Linked DNA regions of Homo sapiens: regions 2 and 3 are each linked to region 1. Evidence: promoter capture Hi-C in 16 types of primary human blood cells and fetal thymus (Javierre and others, 2016). All regions are on one chromosome and are shown on one strand. The core of a region is centred on a gene start or on the middle of the fragment in contact, and the rest is flanking DNA. Distances in the headings are between cores, read along the strand shown. Region 1 holds the start of C1orf216 (chromosome 1 open reading frame 216). Region 2 overlaps PSMB2 (proteasome 20S subunit beta 2). Region 3 overlaps PSMB2 (proteasome 20S subunit beta 2).

The links. Contacts are between HindIII fragments. The CHiCAGO score rates a contact against its expected background, and 5 or more counts as called.
Region 2: a fragment that was not itself captured here is called in contact with the fragment with the promoter of C1orf216 in region 1 in 3 of 17 cell types (endothelial precursors, megakaryocytes and M1 macrophages); the score reaches 5.9 in endothelial precursors.
Region 3: a fragment that was not itself captured here is called in contact with the fragment with the promoter of C1orf216 in region 1 in 1 of 17 cell types (megakaryocytes); the score reaches 8.7 in megakaryocytes.

The regions. Positions count from the first base shown.
Region 1 is chr1:35,717,194-35,721,290 of GRCh38, forward strand. It overlaps C1orf216 (chromosome 1 open reading frame 216), which reads right to left and starts at 1,691. Exons shown (of 2, transcript NM_152374.2): 1 at 1,514-1,691. It also overlaps a transcript of CLSPN not described here. RefSeq lists silencers at 1,423-1,852, 3,515-3,809. The HindIII fragment of the contact is 2,001 bases long and covers 809-2,809 here.
Region 2 is chr1:35,611,156-35,615,252 of GRCh38, forward strand. All of the region lies in intron 3 of PSMB2 (proteasome 20S subunit beta 2), which reads right to left. Among named protein-coding and RNA genes, the nearest start is that of PSMB2, 28 kb to the right of the region's middle. The HindIII fragment of the contact is 1,242 bases long and covers 1,301-2,542 here.
Region 3 is chr1:35,631,416-35,635,512 of GRCh38, forward strand. All of the region lies in intron 2 of PSMB2 (proteasome 20S subunit beta 2), which reads right to left. Among named protein-coding and RNA genes, the nearest start is that of PSMB2, 8.1 kb to the right of the region's middle. The HindIII fragment of the contact is 9,875 bases long and covers 1-4,097 here.

The DNA.
Region 1 (4,097 bases), core at 441-2,940:
CTCGGCCTTTTCACTGATCTCTCTGCCTCCAGTTAAAAATGTAAATTTCACTTGTCACCACTCCTAATGCCCTCCCTGAATTCCTGCTAAACCTCTACCTGGCCTACAACACCCTGTTTGATCTGGCCCCTGCTCACCCCTCCATACCTGCCTCTTGCCACTCTGCCCCTCCCATCATAGCAAACTGCCCAGAGATCTCAAAACACACCATTGTTTTTCTTACAGTATTCCTTTGGCCTACAATATCCTTCCTCTCCCCTCCCCTCAAAGCTCCTCCCTTCTCCACCCAGCAAATTCCTTTTTGTACTTCAAAATTAGCTGTAATATCCCCATGTTTCCATGTCCCCATGTCTCTGAAGCCGTCTTGATACTGCCCCAATCAATATTACATAAACAAGCACGGTTAGTTATGCCTTCCTCTGGGTCCCCACTGCGCTGGGTATACACTGTCTTATCCAACTTTGCATCCGTCCCTGGCATACATGGTCGACGATCAGTGAATGTCTATTCAACTGGCATTTTTGGTTTGTGGTAATGATCTTGTAATAGCAGTTTGTAATCTGGCTTGGACCTCCTGTATATATCCTCCATCATATTCCCCAGAGTCAGCCAGCATAGAGCCCTGAACCAGGCTGTCTGTGCATACAGGTACTTGCTAAGTGAGTGAATGGGAGAAGAGACTGCAGTGAATTTCCATGCTCAGGAATCCACTCTTGACTCCCCAGGGCTGGAAGAGCTGGGTTCTGGAAGAGCTGGGTTTGGTTCCCTTTCCTACCCCAGCCAGGGAGCCCCGCCTTCCCCAGTGACAAGCTTTTCTTCTGAGCCTGCCCCCTTCCCTCCCAATGCCTCTGGAACACAGCCACTATCTTGCGGTCCCCGTCCCTAGCTTGCTCCATTCTGAGGCCCTGGAGGGAGGGCATACCACACCACTCTTCTCTCCTCCATAACCTGCTTCTAACCAAAATTAGGATTTGAACTGACAAAGGGATTCTACTGACCAAACAGCACTGGGATTAGAACAATTGAAGAGCATGAAGAGGAAGGGTATTGTAAGTGGAGCCGGCACTGGAAGGCGCTCCATAGGTGGCATGGACCCTCCCCACCCCCAGCAATGGGCAGAGAAGTCCTGGGGAGAAGGGTGTAGGAACAGTTCGTTTCTAATCGCCCTCTAAGCAAGGCTTGTGGGAAGGTGCCTAGAGATCTCCCCTCGCCCCAATTTTTTATTTTTCCTATACTTGGATGGGGCCGTGAAGGAAGCTGGGATGGGGTGGGGGTGGCGCTAGGGATCACAGGGTTCTCAGAGATAGTAAAATGAGAACCCCGACACGCCAGGACTAGGTCTCCGCCCAAACAGGAGGCAGCCTCCTTTTCTGGCCTTGCGGGAGTGGGAGACCACCCCAGGAGACAGAGACCATCCTTCCCTAGTCTCCTCGAAGGAGGCCACTGTGACTCCCCGCTTCCCGCGGCTGAGCCCCAAGCCCCACCCCGCCTCGGGCCCCAGACTCGGACTCACGGCGTAGAGGCGCCCGCTCCGGCGCGTCTGGCTCTGGCTCCGCCCGGCCCTGGTGGTGTCTAGTCCCTGGGCTGGGGGTTCCTCGGCCTGGGCGTCTCCGCGGTCCAGGCGTGGGTGCGGGGCTCCCGGGCAGCGCGCCCAGCCCCAGTCCCGGACTGCGGAGTCAGGCGGCGTCTGCGCAGCAGGGCGGAGCGACCGGTCCCACGTGGGCCGGTTCGGTTTTCCGCGGAGCCCCGCGCCAGGCCCCTGCGCCGGAACCGCTTCGCCCCCGCGCGGGGCCGCGTTGACCCAGGCCTTCCAGGTCCGGTGCTCTCTCCTATTGGCATTCGCTGGGCCCTTCCCATCAGTTAGCCTCGCTGCAGACACCGTGCCATTTTCAAGTGAAATCTGATTAGTCACCACCTTCCGGCGTTAAACTCCTCAATGGCTTCCCCACCGCCGGGACAACCCCTAAGGCGGTAGCCGCGGGGCTCTGTGCGTCCTGCCCTTCGTCTGCCTCTCCGGCTTCGTCCTCTACCCTCCCTCTCCGCAGTTACCCTCCCACACGCCCCTTTCCGCCACGCGGCTTTGGCACGCACTGTTCCCTCGGTCTAGCATTCTCTTCCCCCTCTCGACTTACTCCTATTTCAGATCTCTTCTCGGAGAGATCTCTGACTCCCTAGATCACGTTCGTTCCCCCCTTTATGTCAGAGCACATTCCTTTTCTTCATAGCATTTATCACAATTTGGAATTATATATTCCTTTTTGTGCTTACTTGACTAAAGTCACTGAGGCCGGGTGCGGTGGCTCACGCCTGTAACCCCAGCACTTTGGGAGGCCGAGGCGGGCAGATAACCTGAGGTCAGGAGTTTGAGACCAGCCTGGCCAACATGGTGAAACCCCATCTCTACTAAAAATACAAAAATTAGCCGGGCTTGGTGGCGGGCGCCTGTAATCCCAGCTACTTGGGAGGCTGAGGCAGGAGAATCGCTTGAACCTGGGAGGTGGAGGTTGCAGTGAGCCAAGACTGCACCACTGCACTCCAGTCTGGGCAACAGAGTGGGACTCCGTCTCAAAAAAAAAAAAAAAAAAAAAAAAAAAAAGAGAGAGAGAGAAAGAAGATCCAAGCCTGGGACAGGGCTCAGGGCTGATGTCCTGTACCCGGGACGGGGGCTCTCCGCAGGACACAGAGCCCACCCATGATGCCTGTGAAGTGGGTACCAGTGCTTTTGCCCAGGTGAGGAGGAACAGCGTGATAAAAAAGGGTCTTGGGTTCCAAACTCCAGTGGATTCTTCTCAGAGCTCCACTCTACTGAAGCTTGACCCCCCTCACTCTTTTGCACCCTGGGGAAATGTGAAGTTGGGGGCCCTGTTTGGAATAAAAGAGAACAGAGTTCAGTAATTGCTGACCCTAATATATGAGGTGCCCTCTTCCAGTTTCAATTTGATTCCAAGTCACCATTCTGCAACCTAGAGACTAATTGGCAAATTAAATCACACCAAGAAATCCTATATGCAAAAACAGGGAAAATGGAAAAGAAATTTTTATGATTATGATGACTATTTTAAAAGGGAAAAGGAAATAAGAAGGAGAAGGCAGAAGTAATTCAAACTTTGCACACTCCTCCAGCTAAGAAAATACAGGTGGAGACGTCAGCCCCATTTCTACATCAGATCCTGTGGCCTAAGTCTTCTCCCTTCCCTTATCCACTTCAGGTTCCCCTGGCCTTCAGCCTGGGGTGACCCAAATCCTCACTTTTTTTTTTTTTTTTTTTTTTTTTGAGATGGAGTCTCGCTCTGTCGCCTAGGCTGGAGTGCAGTGGCGCAATCTCGGCTCACCGCAACCTCCACCTCCCGGGTTCAAGCGATTCTCCTGCCTCAGCCTCCTGAGTAGCTGGGATTACAGGTGCATGCATCACGTCAGCTAATTTTTGTATTTTTAGTAGAGATGGGGTTTCACCATGTTGGTCAGGTTGGTCTTGATCTCCTGACCTTGTGATCCACCCACCTCGGCCTCCCAAAGTGCTGGGATTACAGGCGTGAGCCACCATGCCTGGCCCAAATCCTCACTCCTAAAGGCTCTCAGCTTTGGTGATCTAGGGTTATGCAGTTCTGCCCAGACCACAGAGCCATAAAGTCATCAATTGTTTGTTCTGCCCAGAATAGCCCTTCTCCGCCTCTCTTTGGACTCTGTCTCTCCCAGCTTAACCATGTGGGTCAAATGAAAGCCTGAAGAATCCAGGGATAGGAGCTCCACTCCAGGTGAGCCAGTCAGAGTCCTTCTCTGGGATCTTCTGAAACGAAATTAAAGGAAGACGAGGCAGGGAAGAAACAGAGATGAGAGATAGTTCTGATAATGTTGCAGACCCTGTTTCCTGCATCTAAACTTATAGTTTTGTATGCCTTATTTTGCCAAGCCTAACTTGAGTGGAATTTCTTTCACCGACAATTGAAAGAATGCTGATTACTACAATAGCACAAGGTGGTGACCCCAGGGTCTCTGGGTTCCATTCACGCACCTCTCAACACTTATTAGGTAACAGTAACTCCCTTTCTCCTTGGTAGCCATGATCAGTCCAGTCTACACTGAGACCACCCCCTTCT
Region 2 (4,097 bases), core at 672-3,171, 110 kb before region 1:
GGATATGTCCCCATCCCTAAATTTGTCTATGTATTTAATTAAACGCACAGTAAGTGAGACACCTCATTATGAAGCATGAAGTGTAATAGCTAATGGTCCTAAAAGTGGCATTTAACATTCTTTGAACACTGATTAACACGGCCACTTGGCAGCCTTAAAAAACTCATGGTTTTTGCTTTTTTTGGGGGGAGGGGTTGGGAGGGGAGTAACAGGCTTTTGTTCTGTCGCCCAGGCTGGAGTGCAGTGGTGCAATCATAGCTCGCTGCAGCCTCAAACTCCTAGGCTCAAGTGAATTTCCCACCTCAGCCTCCTGAGCAGCTACGACTATAGGCACCTACCACCATGCCCTGCTGATTTATTATTATTTTTTTAAGAGATGAAGTCTTGGCCGGGCACGGTGGCTCATGCCTGTAATCCCAGCACTTTGGGAGGCCGAGGCGGGCAGATTACTTGAGGTTAGGAGTTTGAGACCAGCCTGGCCAACATGGTGAAATATTGTCTCTACGAAAAATACAAAAATTAGCCATGCGTGGTGGCACGAGCCTATAATCCCAGCTACTTGGGAGGCTGAGGCATGAGAATCGCCTGAACCTGGGAGGCAGAGGCTGCAGTGAGCCGAGATAGTGCTACTGCACCACTCCAGCCTGGGCAATAGAGCAAGACTCTATCTCCAAAAAAAAAAGGAGAGAGAGAGAGAGAGAGATGGGGTCTCACTATGTTGCCCAGGCTGGCCTTCAACTTCTAGGCTCAAGTAATCCTTCCACCTTGGCCTCCCAAAGTGCTGGGATGACAGTCTTGAGCCACCGTGCCTAGCATGAAACTCATATTATATACTTACTTGGAATTCTAAGCCAGCTGTGCTAAGTAGAAAGGGTTCCTAACATCGCCTGGAGATTACAGAGTAGTCCTCACCTCCAAATAAGTTTCTGTTTTAGTGATAGGACAGTGGGTAGTCCCAGAGAGAAATAAGTTGACCAGCAGTCAAGACTTCTGAGAAAATAATTATCTGCCTATTGTATTTCCCAATGAGTAGCGTGCGGCACTCTGCCAAGCTCTGGAATTCTCTGTGCATTCTGAGTACCTTCTTAGTAAAGCTGACCTTAGGCAAAAAACTTAACCCCTATGAGCTTCTGGGTTTTTTTTTTTTTAACATGTAAAACTGGGTTAATTAATCTTTCTCCTTTCTATCTTCTAGGAAATATAATGAGAAAAAATAATAACGGTAAAACAACCCAAACTCTGGAAGAAAAGATGCTACCAAAATTCCTACTACATAACTACATCCCAGTCTCTTTTTGAAAGCTTATCACTTTAAACAACAACAAACCTGCTTAAATTAGCTACAGATTTTAAAAATGCTATTAGTTATATATAAGTGTGAAAACAGTACTGCAAAATCTGGCAGACATAGAATACCTTGGTGTTCTTACAGTTAAAATTAGAAGAGAGAAAGAGGGAGGAAAAGAGGCAGAATAGCAAAGAGAAACTGGTATCCCTCCCCAAGAGAATTAATAATACAGTCTTTTACCTATCACAAAGTAAGTTAAATCTTTTTGCTAAGAGGATAATCTCTACTCTTCTCTACTAACTAGCCAGAACACTCACTGTATACTTAGCCAAGACAATTTCATCAAGTTGCAATGGTATATTAAGTATTCCCCCAGATACTCAAAGAGGCCTTGTTAGAACCCAGATGTTTTGTCTTCAATGAAGATCTTGTCCATACTATGAGATTAAATTGTTTAGAACAATAAATGTTATTTAAAATCCACTACCAGAAAATTTTAGATGAAATAGGATGTCAACAGAATTTCAGAAGCAAACTCCATCACTTAATTGGTCTATATAGTATCATTTACTCATGCTTAGGCATCTGACGCACACATATACTTACCAAAGTTGGTATTCAGAAGCTACAACTCCTGGTATTGAAGATAACTCACAAATTATTGTGTGACTTTGAATTACCAACTTTTGCATGTGTGAGATGCTTAAGCATAAATAAATGGTGTTATCTAGACTAATTAAATCAATACATCTGTGCAACAACTTGCAGTTTGTAAAATTCTTCTGACAATGCTCCACCAAAGATCTCTGGCTTGGCTGAGCACAGTGGCCCATGCCTGTAATCCCGCACTTTGGGAGGCCAAGGTGAGAGGACTGCTTGAGCCTAGGAGTTCAAGACCAGTGTAGGCAAGATGGCAAGACCCTGTCTCTATGGGAAAAAAAAAAAAAAATCTAGGTTAGGGGGCTACTTGGAAGGCTGAGGCAGGAGGATCCTTAAGCCCCGGCATACAGTGAACTATGATCCCCCCACTGTACTACAGACTGACTAGCAACAGAGTAAGACCCTATTTCTACCAAATAAAAAGAAAAGTCACTAAACAAATGTGAGAAAGCAATAAGTGCTACTTCTGAGAAGTGGTTCAAGTTTAAGTCAACTGCCAGCATCTCCATGAATGTACATCTATTGTTGCTTTTTGCTAGGCTTGGGTCCTTCTCTTTCTACCTCCCTCTAGACACAGGGTGCTAAGTAAAGAAAAGCTTAGGATACAGGCCAGGCATTCAGAACTGAACAAAGAGGAGACCAATAGCATAAATAAATAAGAAAGAGTTGGGCTGTGACTTTAGAAAAGTTAGTCATTTAATCTCTCTGAATTTTAATTTCTCATTTAAAACATGGGATGATCCCTACTACAAAAGGGTTGCTGCAGTGAGGATTCCAAAAGATAATGCATGTGGATAATAAGTGTAATGCCCGAAACAGTAAAGACTCTATAAACAATGCAAGTACTCAGGAGAAGCCCAACTACTTCTGGCACTGAGATACGAGGGAAATTCCTATGTGTCTTCATAAAGGGATATGGAAGGATGTTAGTGCCCAGCACAGTGCCTGACACATGGTAGAAAAGCAGTCAGTAAATGAGTTTCCTCCTCTCTCATTCCTGGGACTCTTTCCAGGGGCCCTAGGGTAATGGTGTTCAGTGTCACAAGCATTTGTACTAGACACGTAGAGCATATCTACTTCATGGTCAACCCTCCCTAACCATGTCATTTCTTCCCTTCCAAATGTGTCTACTCTGAGTGGTAAAGCTACTTTCTAGACAGTTTTTCATCAGTTCCCTTAGTTCCCCATGATGTTACATACTTAAGGATTTGCCTAATTATCTGGGGAAATGAAAACATTAATCAATAATGAGAGCACTGCCAGTGATCCTCTTGACAAAGAATCTCTTACAAAGTAATCCTTCGCAAAGATTACCAAGAATCTTTTAAAATGAAATCTCTATTCTGTACATGATATAATCTAGCCTTTGGTTGTCTCCACTATTCTAATTGTTTAGATAGTAAGTCTAAGTAGTAAGACAAAGTTTTGAGGTCCCCAAGGGGAAGAACTGCAACATACAAGACTAGGCTTCTTCCACACCATAAGCTAAGACTGAACATTATATATAGTATTGAATTAACCTAAATATCCAAACATTCATCCAAGTGAACCCAAACATTTAGCTAAGATACTCTCTACCCAAAGGTCTTGGCAATCACCATCAATGGTCTGCAATGCAAACACCAACATGTTTAAAGTTGTGTCTAATTGATATACAAAGAAAAAATTTTAAATGAACCAGCCTGGGAATTCAGAATGAACTTCAGCTTCTAGCATGAGGTACCACCAAAATTTTGCCTCTTAATAGAAGGCAGTGAGGGTGGGGTGAGGACGAAACTAGACAAATGTATCTTTTCCTCCTTTAATGAGTACATGAGTTTATTTTCACAGTGAAGTGCATTTAGGTCATTTTGAGATTTCTTCATCTGTATAATAAGGATAATAAAAGTACCCATCATTATAAGGTTGTGGTAAGGTTTAGATAAATACATGTAAAGTGCTCAGTGCAATGCCTGATATATTGTAATAATGCAGATTGACTATTACCACAACACTACCACCACCACTTTTAGGATTTGACTGCATTATCAACAGATTTGACTAGATAGTAAGATCAAGAAGTGGGCTACAGAGAGCCAATAAAATTGTCCAACTTTTGTTGGTTACTAAAAGATCAAATTTAAGAAGACAGGGGAATTGGCTGATAAGC
Region 3 (4,097 bases), core at 1-2,500, 86 kb before region 1:
CCCCTGTTCCTAAAGCCCACCATCTTTTGTACACTCAGAGTAAACAAAGCATAGACTGAGGGGTACAATCCTACTCTAGTCCCTTTCCTCATGCAACAGCTATGAAATAGCTGGTTAGTACTGACAGCAATTCTTGGCCACAAACAGAACCAGTTCTATAGTGGAATGAAACTTCTAGCAGCCTTGCTTAAACTATTCATTCATCAACACACTGTGGTTTCTGCCGTAGAAGGAAAGGAACACGAATACACAAGAAGTGAAAAAAAAAGAAAGGCGTCTTAGATGCCAATCTTTTAAAAGTTTATTTTAAAAAGGATATTGGGGGCCAGTCACAGTGGCTCATGCCTGTAATCCTAGAGCTTTGGGAAGCCAAGGTGGGAAGATCGCTTGAGCCCAGGAGTTTGAGACTAGCCTGGGCAACATAGTGAGACCCCCATCTCTAAAAAAAATTTTTTTTTAAATTTCTAGGCATGGTGGTACATGCCTGTAATCCCAGCTACTTAGGAGGCTGAGTGGAGAGGATCAATTGACCCCAGAAGTTCAAGTGAGTTATGACTGTGCCACTGCACTACAGCATGGGTGACAGAGCAAGACCCTGTCTCTAAAAAAACGAAAACAGGAACAAAAAGGATATTGGGAAAAGAGAGGCTAGAAGTTAGGACTACCTCAGAGTCATAGTTTATTAAAAAAATATTTTAAATGTTACTTTATTAAGAAGTATAATATGACTTTCAAAAGTATAAGCCACAGAAAAAGAACATTTCCATCATTCTGCAGTATTTTTAAAAATAGAGTATCTCAAGTGTTAAAACTTCAAAAATAAAAGTTGTCATACCAACAAAGGTACAACCCAGAGGAATAGCATCAGGTGTGCATGTAATAACGCATTCACTTTGGAGCTTAATCCCCCTGTAGAATGGGACCAGTGCCAAAAGGCACAAGAATGATCCATAACTCAGTGGGCCCACACAGAAAATGTCAGTATGGAAAGACACACAGCAGTGTGGTTAAGTAATTGCTTACAACATTTCAAATACCACTGTCAAATTAGGAGAGATTCAGATTCAAATCCTAACAAATATTTATTGAGCAGCAACTATGTTTCAGGGTCTATGCTGAGTGTTTTCACATGTATTATTGTACTTTATCCTCACAAGTCTATTAGTGCATATTAAATCATAATGAAAGCAATCCTTGGCCAGGTGCAGTGGCTCATGCCTGTAATCACAGCACTTTGGGAAGCGGAGGCAGGCAGATCACTCGAGCCCAGGAGTTTAAGACCATTCTGGGCAACATGATGAAACCCCGTCTCTACTAAAAATATAAAAATTAGCCAGGGGTGGTGGTGCACACCTGTTTTCCCAGGTAGTTGGGAGGCTGAGGTGGAAGGATCACCTGAGCCTGGGAATTCGAGGCTGCAATGAGCCATGATTGTGCCACTGCACTCCAGCCCAGGCGACAGGAGTGAGACCCTGTCTCAACAACAACAACAAAAATAATAATAATAATTTAAAAAAAGAGGCCAGGCACAGTGGCTCACACCTGTAATCCCAGAACACTTTGGGAGGCCCAGGTGGGTGGATCACCTGGGGACAGGAGTTTAAGACCAGCCTGGCCACCATAGCGAAACTCTGTCTCTACTTAAAATACAAAAAATTAGCCAGGCATGGCGGTGCATGCCTATAATCCCAACTACTCAGGAGGCTGAGGCACGAGAATCACTTGCACCCAGGAGCTGGAAGTTGCAGTGGGCTGAGACTGCACCACTGCACTCCAATCTGAGCAACAGAACGAGACCCTGACTCAAAAAAGAAAAAAAAAAAAAAAGAAGGAACCTAGACAAGTGGGAATACTATTCAATTCTTTACTTAACCCCCTAAACACCACTGAAGATCTGACCATTATCCTAAAGGCAGAAAAGTCATGCCTGATTATCTGCATATAGATTTTCTCTTTCTTTCCCTTATTTTAGCTCAGTTCTTTAACTTATATAAGAATTACTATATAGAGTTACATACACAAAACTGTACTTGGCAGGTAATTTAAGGGTCTTTAAGGGCAATTTTAACCAAACACAGTTTTTGTCTGTGCACTGACTTTAGACCCTAAAACCCAGTAACAAACAACTCTTGCTACTCTTGTTCACTCTTCTCCCTCTCTCAGGACAGCCAGTGAAGTCATACAGTACCTACTGGACTTCAGAAGCATTACTGACATACTTCATTTGTTATGCAGGCAAAAAGTGGAACCACTGGAAAAAAAAGCAGAATTCTTGAAATATTCTAAACCTGCATAAACCTAAGTACCATGTACTTTATGTTCCTGAATGTCAGGACTAAGCCTTATTCATCTTTGAATTCTCTTAAGTATTAAGCAGAATGCTTACCATAGAAGAGGCCCTCAAAAGTATTTATGGAATTGAATACAAATGCTAAATCCACTGCCCAAACTATGTGAATAGATCTTTGGTCATTTTACACATGCAAGTATATTCAAATTAACTTCCTTCATAGCTCCATATTATACCAGTGCAGTGTATAACGTTGTTATTGAACTGTGAGGTAAGTGGAAATAAGGTTTTCTCTGCCAGACCACCACTACAAACATTCCTGGATCAGAGGCCTAGTGGCTAGTATCGTTTGCTAGGGAGGTTTTCCCAGTGGATAAGAGTTCATTAGCCCCAGAGAGAGCTCACAAAATACTTCACAAAAGTCTTAATTATCTCTCTAGAAGGAAACCTACCAGAGAGTAAGGCAGAACCCTTTTATGGCACAGTAAATACTTATAGTTAGTTACACAATGCTTTAGGTTTACAAAATATTTTCATATGTATTATTCATTAGTATTATAATTCATTTCAGAGATAAGGAAAATAAAGTCCCAGAGAAGATAAATGACTTATCACATAAAAAATAGTAAAGCCAAGGTTTACTTAGGTTTTTTGACGCTGAGATTCAGATTTTTTTGTTTCTTTGTTTTGAGACAGGGTCTCACTCTGTCGCACAGGCTGGAGTGCAGTGGCACTATCATGGCTCACTGAGACCTTGAACTCCTGGGCTCAAGTGATCTTCCCACTTCAGCTTCCTGAGTAGCTGGGACTATGGGTGTGCACCACTGCACCCAGGTAAATATTTTTATTTTTTATAGAGCCAGGGTCTTGCTTTGTTGCCTAGGCTGGTTTCAAACTCCTGACCTCAAGTGATCCTCCCATCTCAGCCTCTCAAAAGTGCTGGGATTACAGGTGCTAGCCACTGTGCCTGGCCAGGTTCAGATACTTTTAAACTCAAACCACATCCTCTGAGATATCTAACACTTAAAAAGTCTGATACTACCATCCCTACCTCCAAGATGGTGTTGGGTTTTTTTTTTTTTGGTTGGTTTAAAAAAATTTTTTTTAGAGACAGAGTCTTGCTGCCTTCCAGAGTACAGTGGCACAATCATAACTCACTGCAGCCTCGACCTCCTGGGCTCAAACGATCTTCCTGCCTCAGCCTCCTGAGTAGCTAGGGCTATAGGTGCATGCCACCACACTCAGCTAATTTTTAAAAACTTTTTTGTAGAAGGCCGGGCGTGGTGGCTCACACCTGTAATCCCAGAACTTTGGGAGGCCGAGGTGGGCAGATCATCTGAGGTCATGAGTTTGAGACCAGCCTGACCAACATGGAGAAACCCTGTCTCTACTAAAAATACAAAATTAGCCAGGCGTGGTGGCACATGCCTGTAATCCCAGCTACTTGGGAGGCTGAGGCAGGAGGATTGCTTGAACCTGGAAGGCAGAGGTTGCGGTGAGCCGAGATTGTGCCACTGCACTCCAGCCTGGACAACAAGAGTGAAACTCCATCTCAAAAAAAAAAAAAATTTTTTTTTTTTTTGTAGAGATGAGGTGTCACTACATTGCTCAGGCTAGTCTTAAACTCCTGGTCTCAAGTGATCCTCCCACCTTGTCCTCCCCAATTGCTGGGATTACAGGCATGAGCCATCATACCAGGCCGATGGTGTTAGTTTTATCTATCAGCTATCAGTGTTACAACAGTTCTCTGCTCTAGGATTTTTGTAGAAAATCTTTTATGAAGGATTAGAATCTTTAGGGTCTAGAC